Linked DNA regions of Homo sapiens: region 2 is linked to region 1. Evidence: promoter capture Hi-C in 16 types of primary human blood cells and fetal thymus (Javierre and others, 2016). All regions are on one chromosome and are shown on one strand. The core of a region is centred on a gene start or on the middle of the fragment in contact, and the rest is flanking DNA. Distances in the headings are between cores, read along the strand shown. Region 1 holds the start of ELOVL3 (ELOVL fatty acid elongase 3). Region 2 overlaps GBF1 (golgi brefeldin A resistant guanine nucleotide exchange factor 1).

The links. Contacts are between HindIII fragments. The CHiCAGO score rates a contact against its expected background, and 5 or more counts as called.
Region 2: a fragment that was not itself captured here is called in contact with the fragment with the promoter of ELOVL3 in region 1 in 6 of 17 cell types (megakaryocytes, endothelial precursors, activated CD4 T cells and 3 more); the score reaches 7.7 in megakaryocytes.

What each region holds. Positions count from the first base shown.
Region 1 is chr10:102,222,830-102,229,478 of GRCh38, forward strand. ELOVL3 (ELOVL fatty acid elongase 3) reads left to right here and starts at 3,470. Exons shown (of 4, transcript NM_152310.3): 1 at 3,470-3,820; 2 at 4,797-4,928; 3 at 5,588-5,739; 4 at 5,996-6,649. The coding sequence starts at 3,720. The coding sequence ends at 6,423. RefSeq lists a silencer at 3,452-3,501. The HindIII fragment of the contact is 5,656 bases long and covers 1-3,689 here.
Region 2 is chr10:102,335,498-102,341,628 of GRCh38, forward strand. All of the region lies in intron 3 of GBF1 (golgi brefeldin A resistant guanine nucleotide exchange factor 1), which reads left to right. Among named protein-coding and RNA genes, the nearest start is that of NFKB2, 57 kb to the right of the region's middle. The HindIII fragment of the contact is 7,072 bases long and covers 1-5,524 here.

The sequences.
Region 1 (6,649 bases), core at 2,220-4,719:
CGCTTCTTCCTCTATGTTGAGGCTTTCAGGAGGGCTACTGGGGAAAAAAAACAAAACAAAACCAGTGACCACACAAAAGATAGGCTTGGAGTATTTATCCTGGAGAATAAATAATGTCACTCAGGTTTACATGCCAAGGATTTCATCCATTCAATCACTTGCGCAACAAATATTACCTGGGTTATGCTCAGGGTTAGGAGAATGATGAAAAAAACAGACATATTCCGGCAGTGGCTCATGTCTGTAATCTCAGCACTTTGGGAAGCTGAAGTGGGCAGATCACTTGAGGTCAGGAGTTCAAGACTAGCCTGGCCAACATGGCGAAAACTGTCTCTACTAAAAGCACAAAAATTAGCAAGGCGTGGTGGCACACATCTGTAGTCCCAGCACTCAGGGGACTGAGGTACGAGAATCGCTTGAACTCAGGAGGCAGAGGTTGCGGTGAGCCAAGATCAGGCCACTGCACTCCAGCCTGGGCGACAGAGCAAGACTCTGTCTCATAATAAAAAATTTTAAAAAATAGACATAGTCCCTGCATTCATGGAGCTCAAGAACTAGTAGGAAAAACAGGCATTGATCAAGAAATCACAAAAACAACTAATTATAAACTCTCACTGAAGAAAAGAAATACCATGCTCTGAGAACAGTTTATATAAAATAAGGGTACCAGACCAAGTCCAAGGGTCAAGGAATGTTTCCTCTAGAATATAATTTCTGAAGATTTTTCCTCTTCTTTTTTCTTTTTTGAGACAGAGTCTCGCTCTGTTGCCCAGGCTGGAGTGCAGTGACACAATCTCTGCTCAGTGCAACCCACGCCTGCCAGATTCAAGCAATTCTCCCTGCCTCAGCCTGCCAAGTAGCTGGAATTACAGGTATCCGCCACTACACCTAGCTAATTTTTGTATTTTTAGTGGAGATGGGGTTTCACCATGTGGGCCAGGCTGGTCTTGAACTCCTGACCTCAGGTGATCTGCCCACCTCAGCCTCCCAAAGTGCTGGGATAACAGGCGTGAGCCACTGCACCTAGCTTTTTTTTTTTTTTTTTGAGACAGAGTCTCACTCTGTCACCCAGGCTGGAGTGCAGTGGTGTGATCACAGCTCAGTGGCACGATCACAGCTCACTGCAGCCTTGACCTCCCTGGCTCAAGTGATCCTCCCTCCTCAGTCCCTGAGTAGCTGGGACCACAGGTGGGCGCTACCATGCCCAGCTAATTTTTGTACTTTTTGTAGAGATGGATTTTCACCATGTTGCCCAGGCTGGTCTCAAATTCCTGGGCTCAAGCAATCCCCCCACCTCAGCTTCCTACAGTACTGGGATTACAGGCGTGAGCCACCGTGCCCAGCCCCGAGTGTTCTTCTTTCCCTCTTCCACATACACCTCCTCCAAGCCTCACCATTAAACCTCACAGGGAAAGACAATGTTAAATATCTTCACAGAGAAATCCAGGACTGAGTATATATTCTCCATATGCACTTGTAAACCTCCCATAATGATTCACCTTGCCATTTCCATGTGTCTAGTCCACAATATCATTTTATCTACATTATCTGGCTTGCATACTAATCACAACCTTGTGACATAAGCAGGCGAGTATGACTATATGCATTTTTTTCTGAAGTAGAATGTGACAAAGGCTAGGTAACTTGCCTAAAATCACATGGCTCATTAATGGGGGTGCTGGGACTTGAACTTGGGTCTTGTAAGACCTAGATGGCATTATTCTTGTAATATTCATTCTTTTATTTATTCATTCATCCATAGACATGTATTGATCACCTTTTGATTAGCTGTCAGGCTATATATGGAGCCATCAGGAACCACTGAAGGTTTTTTTTTTTTTTTTTTTTTTTGAGACGGAGTCTCACTCTGTCACCCAGGCTGGAGTGCAGTGGCACGATCTCTGCTCACTGCAAGCTCTGCCTCCCAGGTTCACGCCATTCTCCTGCCTCAGCCTCCCGAGTAGCTGGGACTACAGGCGCCTGCCACCACGCCCGGCTAATTTTTTGTATTTTTTAGTAGAGACGGGGTTTGACGGTGTTAGCCAGGATGGTCTCGATCTCCTGACCTCATGATCTGCCCGCCTCGGCCTCCCAAGGTGCTGGGATTACAGGCGTGAACCACCGTGCCCGGCCGAACCACTGAAGGTTTTTAAGCAGGAAAGCAGAGCTGTTTTCTGGATGAGCAAACAGAAAGTAGTGGTTTTCCAAGTACAGTCTGAGACAACCTATAGGACCAGAATCTCTGCAGTTGAGGCTCAGGAATCTGGTAATCAGCCAGGTATAGGAACTCTTTTCTGATTGCAATGCAGTGAAGAGCAGAAGCACTGTATTAGAGAAAGAGGCAGTGCAACCAGGTAACGTGACCAGGTGAGAAGTGATGAGGTACAGAGACAAAGAGATGCACTTTTGAGTCACTTAGATGGCACTGATAGGACTTCCACTACACCCTCGCATAGACAGTGGCTGAGGTTCAGGAAATAGAGCTGGGGTTCCTACTTGGATCCTCTGGCTCTAGAGCTTTACTGCACATAGCCATTTATACCCACATCTTGATTTTAATTATTTTATATCTATGTTTCTTAGCACTTTTTGCAAATTTCCACCTTATCTCAAACTGCCCTCAAGCCTTGTATTTCTCCTTCGCTTTCATAAAACCTAGGAAAGAAATAAGGGACAGCCAAGTAAAACTTTTAAAAGTTTTAGAACATTTATTTCTTTGGGGCTGGTTACACAGGCGAGAAAGAAGTAGATTTGGTTAGGGAGAGAAAACAACAGGCCTTGGGGAGATACACTGGCTCTCCCCCTCCCTAAACCCTAAGAGGCCTCCAGGAAACCTGAAGACAATAATTCCAGAAGCCCAGAGGGTGACCCCATTTCCTCTCTCCATGGTTATTACTGTCAGTCTGGAGCAGTTCAGGAATTCAGGAAACTATAAAGAAACCACAACAGCCTCAACAACCCAAACATCAACATCAACAACCTCAACAATAAAACTCCTTAAAATTCATCTCCTTCCACCCACTCACAACCGCAGACTCGAAGCTAGGAGGTGGAAGGGACTACAGAAGCTCTGCGTTGCCCAGGTTAGTATTTGCTCATCACAGGCCTGGGTTTCCCAGGATCTCAGGGAGCCTGGAAACTGACGCCTCCATTTCTGGGTGGGAGCACCAAAGCCTAAGGACACCTTTCCTCTCTCTTCACTGCTAAGCAGGTCAAGATTAAAGCAAACCGAGGCAAAGGCCACGGTTGACAGTTCCAAGGGAACCCGCAAGGCCGCACAGGATGGGGTGGACGTTTTACGGGAGAAAAGGCTGGGGAAGTGGGCGGGCGATGGCCTACGACGGGACTTGGGGCGGGGTGTGCGAAACGCCTGGCAGGCGGGCCCTTGAGTATGACCAATCAGAATGCGGACTGCGTCCCAGGGGCGGAGCAGAGGCGTATCTTGGTCGAGATTGGATAGCGGCGGGGCGCAGGAAAGAGGTCGCGCCAGCCCGGGCAGGCAGCTTTGCAAGTCCGCGTTATATATCGCAGTGGCTGCGCCCGGGATAGCTGGCTGCGCCGCCGCGCACATGCCTAGGTTCGACGCCCTCCTCCCTTTGCCCAGGAGTTCCTTCTGTCCCGGCTCTGTTCCGTCTCGCCCCGAGGTTCACGCCATCCTCGGAGCCCCAGCCTTTCACCCAGCGCCTCCAAGCTTTGGACCTTGACTTCTGCAAAACTAGATGGTCACAGCCATGAATGTCTCACATGAAGTAAATCAGCTGTTCCAGCCCTATAACTTCGAGCTGTCCAAGGACATGAGGCCCTTTTTCGAGGAGTATTGGTGAGACTTTGGGAGAGGGAAAGGCCATGCCAGGGCCCCGGGGCCGGGGCGCGAGGGGGTGGCATTGAATGCCCACAATGATTTTCTTACAGAGCAGAGTTATGGGACTCCCTTGTACTGGCTTCACACTACCTTTGTCCGAGGTGCAGGTAGTATGTGGCACCTCAAAGAGATTAGAGCTGAAAGCAAGCAAGCAGAAATAAGAGGATGAGGGAGAACGTGGAAATATACAGAAGTCAAAGAGAGCGTGTAGTGAGAAGGGTCTTGGAGGCGTGAGGTTGATCTGAAGCCTTACTAGATGACTTCCCCGTCCTTTGTGGCTGTGTGTGCGCGCGTGTGTGCACAGTGCAGGGCCCGGGGGACAGCCTGCCCTTTACAATTATCCCATCGTTCCCCAGGTGCTCCACCGTTCCTGCTGTGGAGAAGGAGGCGAAGTCAGAGAGCTCTTCCAAGCTTTCCCCAGGAAGAGCTCTCTGGCTTTGCCTTAAAGCTCCCCAGAGGTTTTGGAGGCTGACTTTATGCTCCAACCAATTTGCCATACCCCAGCCAGGGAGAAGCTATTGCCACATTCTTCTTACGCCACAGCCCTGGTATGCTTCTAGGAGCCCCAACCAGGGAGAAGCTATTGCCACACTTCTTACACCACAGCCCTGGGCTGCTTCTAGGCGCGGGCCAGACAGCCGTCACCCACCTCTAACCCCACTGAGAGAGCAATAATCACAGAAACCTTGGACATAGCTCCTGCCCTGTGCTAGATACTTTGTATACGTTAATACCCCCAGGAGAGATGTAGTATTCGCGCTCTACAAATGAGGAAGCCAAGGCTCAGAGAATTAAGTTGGTTTTTCCAATGTCACATAGCTAGTAAGTGGCAGAACTGGGACTCCAACCCAGAGCACTCACCTGGAGAGATGAGTGGGCATTTCTCTAATCAGCACCCACCCATGAGCCCATCCCTCTGCCTTCTGCTTGCCAGGGCAACCTCATTCCCCATAGCCCTGATCTACCTGGTTCTCATCGCTGTGGGGCAGAACTACATGAAGGAACGCAAGGGCTTCAACCTGCAAGGGCCTCTCATCCTCTGGTCCTTCTGCCTTGCAATCTTCAGGTAAGACCCCATCCCACTCCCTGCCTCTTCTCTAGATCTTAGACCACCATTCTATCCCTTGAAGCTTTCCCGATTGCATCAACCTCCATCCTGTCCCCAAGTTGCCTTGTAACACTCTCCCCATCTCATTCTCGGCTTTAGTTCCCCTCCCAGCCTTCACCCTCTTCTGTTATATTATCCTGTTTTCCTTCTCTTTTAGACCCCTACCTGGTGGTCTCTGCTTTGTCCCTCTTGCCTTCGTAGAGTCTGTACTCGCAACTAATTTCTCCAGCCTCTAATAGTGTCACCTCCTAACACCCTCTCTCAAGACCCTCCAATAACTTCCCCATATTTTCTCCCCCAAACTCCTTCAGTCTTCCCCTATCCCTCTACACATCTCCTCCCAGGCTCCTAACCCCTCCCAAGAACCCCATTCCTTAACTCAACTTTCAGTCCCATCCCCCTGCATTCCCTGATCTTTCTCCAGCCCTCGTCTCCTCTAGACTACTGATTGGATCTACCAGATTGGCTTCAGGATCTCAGGAGCTTTGACCCACCCCCTGTGGACAGGTGGGGAGGTGGTAGAGCTTGGAACACAGTAACCTGGCCAAGCCGGGGGAAGGGTGGATTATTGGTGCCTGGGGATGACACTTACACCATCTTCCTTTGTCCCATTTCAGTATCCTGGGGGCAGTGAGGATGTGGGGCATTATGGGGACTGTGCTACTTACCGGGGGCCTAAAGCAAACCGTGTGCTTCATCAACTTCATCGATAATTCCACAGTCAAATTCTGGTCCTGGGTCTTTCTTCTCAGCAAGGTCATAGAACTCGGTGAGTGGCAAAGCTTTGTCTTTCTGGTGCCTTGTGAACTGCATCCTTCCTCAGGGCCCTCCCTTCACCCATCCCATGGAGGGTCTCTTTCCTACCCTTGGGTCCCAATAATACCTCTCACCCAAGCCCCTCTACAGATTCTCTGCCACAAAGACCCCCTTCCCTCCCCTGAGAATTTCTCCCGTGTCCCTACATCCAGTGCAGAGGGTGGTCCCAGCACTGGGTGGTATGCCAACTATGACTCTCCATCTCCCAGGAGACACAGCCTTCATCATCCTGCGTAAGCGGCCACTCATCTTTATTCACTGGTACCACCACAGCACAGTGCTCGTGTACACAAGCTTTGGATACAAGAACAAAGTGCCTGCAGGAGGCTGGTTCGTCACCATGAACTTTGGTGTTCATGCCATCATGTACACCTACTACACTCTGAAGGCTGCCAACGTGAAGCCCCCCAAGATGCTGCCCATGCTCATCACCAGCCTGCAGATCTTGCAGATGTTTGTAGGAGCCATCGTCAGCATCCTCACGTACATCTGGAGGCAGGATCAGGGATGCCACACCACGATGGAACACTTATTCTGGTCCTTCATCTTGTATATGACCTATTTCATCCTCTTTGCCCACTTCTTCTGCCAGACCTACATCAGGCCCAAGGTCAAAGCCAAGACCAAGAGCCAGTGAAGGTTTGGAGAGAACAATGAAGCTCCAGGCTCTCTCTTCTCCAGGGCACCAAGAGGCTGGGCTTAGTTTTGGGAGAATGATTAGGTTGCCTTACCTGCATGGTTTCCCCAGAGGATGTGTGCCCCAAGGTGGCTGGAATTTTTGACAGACAAGAAGGGTGACCTTGGGATGGGGGTGTGGTCTGTTACTTTAATGTTTCTGTTTTTAATGTGAAGGCCAAGCAGGC
Region 2 (6,131 bases), core at 739-3,238, 110 kb after region 1:
ATTGAATCTCAGTTCCCAGCCAGGCTGAACCGTGAGATAGGACACCAGAAACCTTTCTGTTCTAGCCTTGTAGGAAGCAGTAAAGTCGGATGGCTACGAGCAGAGCTTTTGGAGTTGGATGGACCTGGATTTGATTCCTGTTTCCACTACTAGCTAGTGCTATGATCTTAGCTGGTGGGGACATCTCGTTATCCTTTCCAAGCCTCATTTTTATCTTCAAAATGGGGTTAATTATGAAGAGTGAAGGTATGTAAAGTGCATAGCACTTGGCATGGCGCAGGTAATAAATGTTAATGAGTACTTTAATAATTCATTTTATTAAAAGGAAGCCTGTTCTTTCTCTGATACCTTGGAGAAAGCTGAAGCCCTCAGAAATTAAAAGTGCTATCCCAAATTGTACCGTAAATATCAACCACCCGTTATCTCAGTATTTATCCTTAACTTGTGTTTGTTTTATGGTTTAGGAGTCAAAGGTAGAATTTTTATATATATATTTACTTAAATCTTAAGAAATGAACTGGTGGCCAGGTGCAGTGGCTCATGCCTGTAATCCCAGCACTTTGGGAGGCCGAGGCAGGCAGATCACAAGGTCAGGAGATCAAAACCATCTTGGCCAACATGGTGAAATCCCATCTCTACTAGAAAATACAAAAATTAGCTGGGTGTGGTGGCATGTGCCTGTAGTCCCAGCTACTCGGGAGGCTGAGCCAGGAGAATTACTTGAACCGGGGAGGTGGAGGTTGCAGTGAGCCAAGATCACTCCACTGCACTCTAGCCTGGTGACAGAGCGAGACTTTGTCTCAAAAAAAAAAAAAAAGAAAAAAAAAAAAGAAAGAAATGAACTGGTATACAATATAGAGAACACTGGACTGCTGTGACTCTAGAGCTAAAAACTAGAACAATATCTTAGTTATCTTTATTATACACTTTATTCCATGCATTGTACCAAGTGTTTTACATGCATCAAATGAGATAGTGTGTAAATTGCTTAATACCATGCCTGGCACATAGTATACGCTCAGTGAATGTTAGTTGCTATTATTATTTATTTTAAATGTAATTTATTTAAATTATCTAATACCCATTTACAAGTAATAAAATTAGAGACCCAGAACACTTAAGTAATTAAAGTCACATAGCTATTAAGTTGCAGAACTGGGATTTGAATCGTCCACGAAAGCCCATGATTCTACCTAGAGCCCTTAGCTTCTAGTCCTGGTTCCAATACTAACTGGCCTTGTACAAATTACTTAACTTCCCTAAATCTCAGTTACCTCATTATAAATTATTTTCAGGCCCTATTTTAGCTGTAATATCCTAGGATTTGGAGGATTTTCCTGAACAGTCAAAAATTATGACTTATTTTTGTAGGGTATGGTTTAATCTCTGAGTAACAGTTCCCTAGAAAACTGATGCAGCCTACAAACTGCTGCTTATACACAAAGAGATATATACAGAAGTTGAAAGTATTTTAAAAATTTTATAACAATGTGACAGTAGTTACATGTATGTTGATTCTAGTAATAAAAAAATTGGACTTTATGTTTTTAAAATTTTTCTAGTAATTAACTGTATTTTATAAAACTATGGGTCTGCACGGGCTGGGCGAGGTGGCTCACGTCTGTAATCCCAGCACTTTGGGAGGCCGAGGTGGGCGGATCACGAGGTCAGGAGGTCGAGACCATCCTGGCTAACGCGGCGAAACCCCATCTCTACTAAAAATACAAAAAGTTAGCCGGGCATGGTGGTGGGCGCCTGTAGTCCCAGGTACTCGGGGGGCTGAGGTGGAAGAATGGTGCGTGGGGGAGCTTGCAGTGAGCCAAGATCTCGCCACTGCACTCCAGCCTGGGCGACAGAGCGAGACTCCGCCTCAAAAAAAAAAAAAAAAACTATGGGTCTGCAGTGGATTGACATAAAGAAGAAAAAACTGCTCTTCATCACAGATAATTTGACAAGCACTATTCTAGATAACCATCTGAACATCTCACCAGGATTATAAATTCAAATTTGTTTGTTTTTAAATTACATGTTTACAAAAAGTTACCCCTTAAATTAGAAATATCCTTACTAAAGGCTGGACGTGGAGACTCACGCCTGTAATCACAGCACTTTGGGAGGCTGAGACAGGTGGACCACCTGAGGTCAGGAGTGCAGTTTGAGACCAGCCTGGCCAACATGAAGAAACCCCATCTCTACTAAAAATATAAAAATTAGCTGGGCCTGGTGGTACATGCCTGTAATCCCAGCTACCTGGGAGGCTGAGGCAGGAGAATCGCTTGAACCCAGGAGGCAGAGGTTGCAGTGAACCGAGATCACACCACTGCACTCCAGCCTGGGTGACAGAGCAAGACTCTGTCTCAAAAAGAAAGAAAGAAAGAAAGAAATATCCTTACTAGTGATGCCCCACTAGGAGTTCAACTTGCCCCCAACCCCACTTGTTGCAGAGTTGCTCCTGTTAGAGCTTCTCTTATGCTCCTGGCAATCAACAGTTGAACCTAGAGAGCAAAACTCTTGTTCTCCCTAGACAAAACTCTTTAAGGAAAGTTAACTTTATATATCATGATTCTCTTTTTTGGAAGAGGTAGGGAAGTGACATGATAATGAAGGTTCCTGGTGGGCTCATTAAAAAGTTTAACCCTTCTAGTTTTTCATCAGTAGGTTTCTATAAAGCACTGACTTACCAAATGAAAGTACTGGAATGAACATATCTTAGCAGTCATAGATTCCAACAACCTTCTTCTTTTTTTTTTTTTTTTTTTTTGAGACAGAGTCTCCTTCTGTCACCCAGGCTGGAGTGCAGTGGTGCAGTCTCGGCTCACTGTAGCCTCTGCCTCCCAGGTTGAAGCAATTCTCATGCCTCAGCCTCCAAAGTAGCTGAGATTACAGGCACGTGCCACCACACCAGGCTAATTTTTTTTGTATTTTTATTAGAGACATGGTTTCACTATGTTGGCCAGGCTGATCTGAAACTCGTGACCTCAAGTGATCCACTCACCTCGGCCTCCCAAAGTGCTGGGATTAGAGGTGTGAGCCACTGCGCCCAGCCGATTTCAACTATCTAATTTGACAGATGAAGGTCTTGGGTATCATATATCTGGCTATTGATAGGAGTGAGACTAGTCCATTGACTGAATTGTATGCTGTGTGAGGGTTACACACAGAGCCTCGGCTGGGTGCGGTGGCTTACACCTGTAATCCCAGCACTTTGGTAGGCCAAGGCAGGCGGATTACCTGAGGTTGGGAGTTTGAGACCAGCCTGACAAACATGGAGATACCCCGTCTCTACTAAAAATACAAAATTAGCTGGGCGTGGTGGCGCTCATCAGTACAGTGATGAGAGAAACCAAGAAGATCTGAATAATGGAGAGACATACCAAGTTCATGAATTGGTAGGCACAACATAGCAAAGATATCATGTCTCCCCAAATTGATCTATAGACTCAATGCAATTCCTTTCAAACTTCCAACAAGGCAAGTTTGTCTTAAATTGAAATGGAAAGGCAAAGGAATTGGAACACTGAATGATATTGGAAAAAAAAATGAAGTTGGAGGAATCACACCACTGTTATTAAGACTTAGTATAAGCCGGGCATGGTGGCTCACGCCTATAATCCCAGCACTTTGGAAGGCCGAGACGGGTGGATCACCTGAGGTCAGGAGTTCAAGACCAGCCTGGCCAACATGGCAAAATCTCGTCTATACTAAAAATACAAAAATTAGCCAGACGAGGTGGTGTGTGCCTGTAATCCCAACTACTCAGGAGGCTGAGGCATGAGAATCACTTGAACCCGGGAGGTAGAGGTTGCAGTGAGCCGAGATCATGCCACTGCACTCCAGCCTGGGTGACAGAGCGAGACTCTGTCTCAAAAAAAGACTTAGTATATATCGGCAGGGCACAGTGGCTTATGCCTGTAATGCCAGCACTTTGGGAGGCTGAGGCGGACAGATCACAGGGTCAAGAGATCGAGACCATCCTGGCCAACATGGTGAAACCCCGTCTCTACTAAAAGTACAAAAAAATTAACTGGGCGTGGTGGCACGTTCCTGTAGTCCCAGCTACTCAGGAGGCTGAGGCAGGAGAATCGCTTGAACCCAGGAGGCAAGGTTGCAGTGAGCCAAGATCGAGCCACTGCACTCTAGCCTGGGTAACAGAGCAAGACTCCGTCTCAAAAAAAAAAAGACTTAGTATATATTTATAATAATTAACACAGTGTCGTGTTGTCAGACTTAGACACATAGATCAATGAAACAGAACAGAACCCAGAAGAGACTCACAAAAATATGGCCAATTTAATTTTTATTTTTTGGAACAGGGTCTTACTCTGTCACCCCAGGCTGGAGTGCAGTGGTATGATCACAGTTCACTGCAGCCTCAGCCTCCCAGGCTCAAGCAATCCTCTCACCTCAGCCTCCTGAGTCGCTGGGACTACAGGCACATGCCATCATACCTGGTTAATTTTTTTTTTTTTTTTTTGAGACAGGATCTCACTTTGTCACCCAGGCTGGAGTGCAGTGGCACGATCTCAGCTCACTGCAGCCTCTACCTCCTGGGTTCAAGATATTCTTTCACCTCAGCCTCCCCAGTAGCTGGGACTACAGGTGCGCGCCACCATGCCCCACTAATTTTTGTATTTTTTGGTAGAGATGGGGTTTCACCATGTTTGCCAGGCTGGTCTTGAACTCCTGACCTCAGGTGATCCACCCACCTCAGCCTCCCAAAGTGCTGGGATTATAGGCATGAGGCATGAGCCACTGCTCCTGGTCCATGCCTTTTTTTTTTTTTTTTTTTTTTTGAGACAGAGTCTCGCTGTGTTGCCCAGGCTGGAGTGCAGTGGCACGATCTCCGCTCACTGCAAGCTCTGCCTCCCAGGTTCACGCCATTCTCCTGCCTCAGCCTTCCTGAGTAGCTGGGACTACAGGCTCCCGCCACCACGCCTGGCTAATTTTTTGTATTTTTAGTAGAGACGGGGTTTCACCGTGTTAGCCAGGATGGTCTCGATCTCCTGACCTTGTGATCCGCCTGCCTCGGCCTCCCAAAGTGCTGGGATTACAGGCGTGAGCCACCACGCCTGGCCGTTTTTTTAATTATTTTCTGTAGAGATGATCTCACTATGTTGCCCAGGCTGGTCTCGAACTCCTAGACTCAAGGGATCCACCCACCTCAGTCTTCCAAAGTGCTGGGACCAGTGCCCAACCTGGTCAATTTATTTTTGACAAAGGTGCAAAGACAACTTAATGAGATATGTTGGAAACAGTAGGAAATTCTTAGGCAAAGGAAAAATGAGCCTCAATCTAAACCTCACACCTTATGCAAAAATTAACTGAAAATAGATCATAGGTGAAAAACATAAATCTGTAAACATTTTAGGAGAAAATGGGAGGGTGGAAATCTTTGTGACTTGGAATTAGGCAGAGTCAATTTAGACATTAAACCAAAACACAATCCATAAAATATTAATAAGTTGGACTTCATCAAGAGTAAAAGTGTCTGTTCTATGAAAGATGTTAAGGGAATGAAAAAATAAGCTTAAGACTGGGAGAAAATACTTAGAAATAACTGTATCACTACTGAAGGACTTGAATTCAGAATAAAGAAGTCTCCAAACTCAATAGTAAGAAAACAATTTAGTTTAATAATGGATAAAAGACTTGAGCAGACATGTCACCCAAAAGGATATACAGACGGCAAATAAGCACATGAAAAGATGTTCAACATAATTAGTCATTAGAGAAATGCAAATTTAAACCACATGGAGCTACTATTACATACATACTTGAATCGCTTAAGTAAAAACACTGAAATACAAAGTACTGAAGAGGATGTGGAGAAACTAGAATTCTTATTGCTAGTGGGAATACAAAGTGATAAAATGACATTGGAAAAGAGTTTGACAGTAAAGCTAACCACACCTTTACCTTTTGACCCAGGAATCCTACCCCTGGGTACTTACCCTAAAGAAGTGGAAACCTGTGTTCACACAAACACTGATACACAAATGTTTATAGCAGCTCCATTCATAATTGCCCCAAACTGGAGATCCCACATGTCCTTCAACCAGTGAATGGATAAAGAAACTGATACATACAGGCAATGAATACTACTCAGCAGTAAAAAGAAACAAGCTATTGAT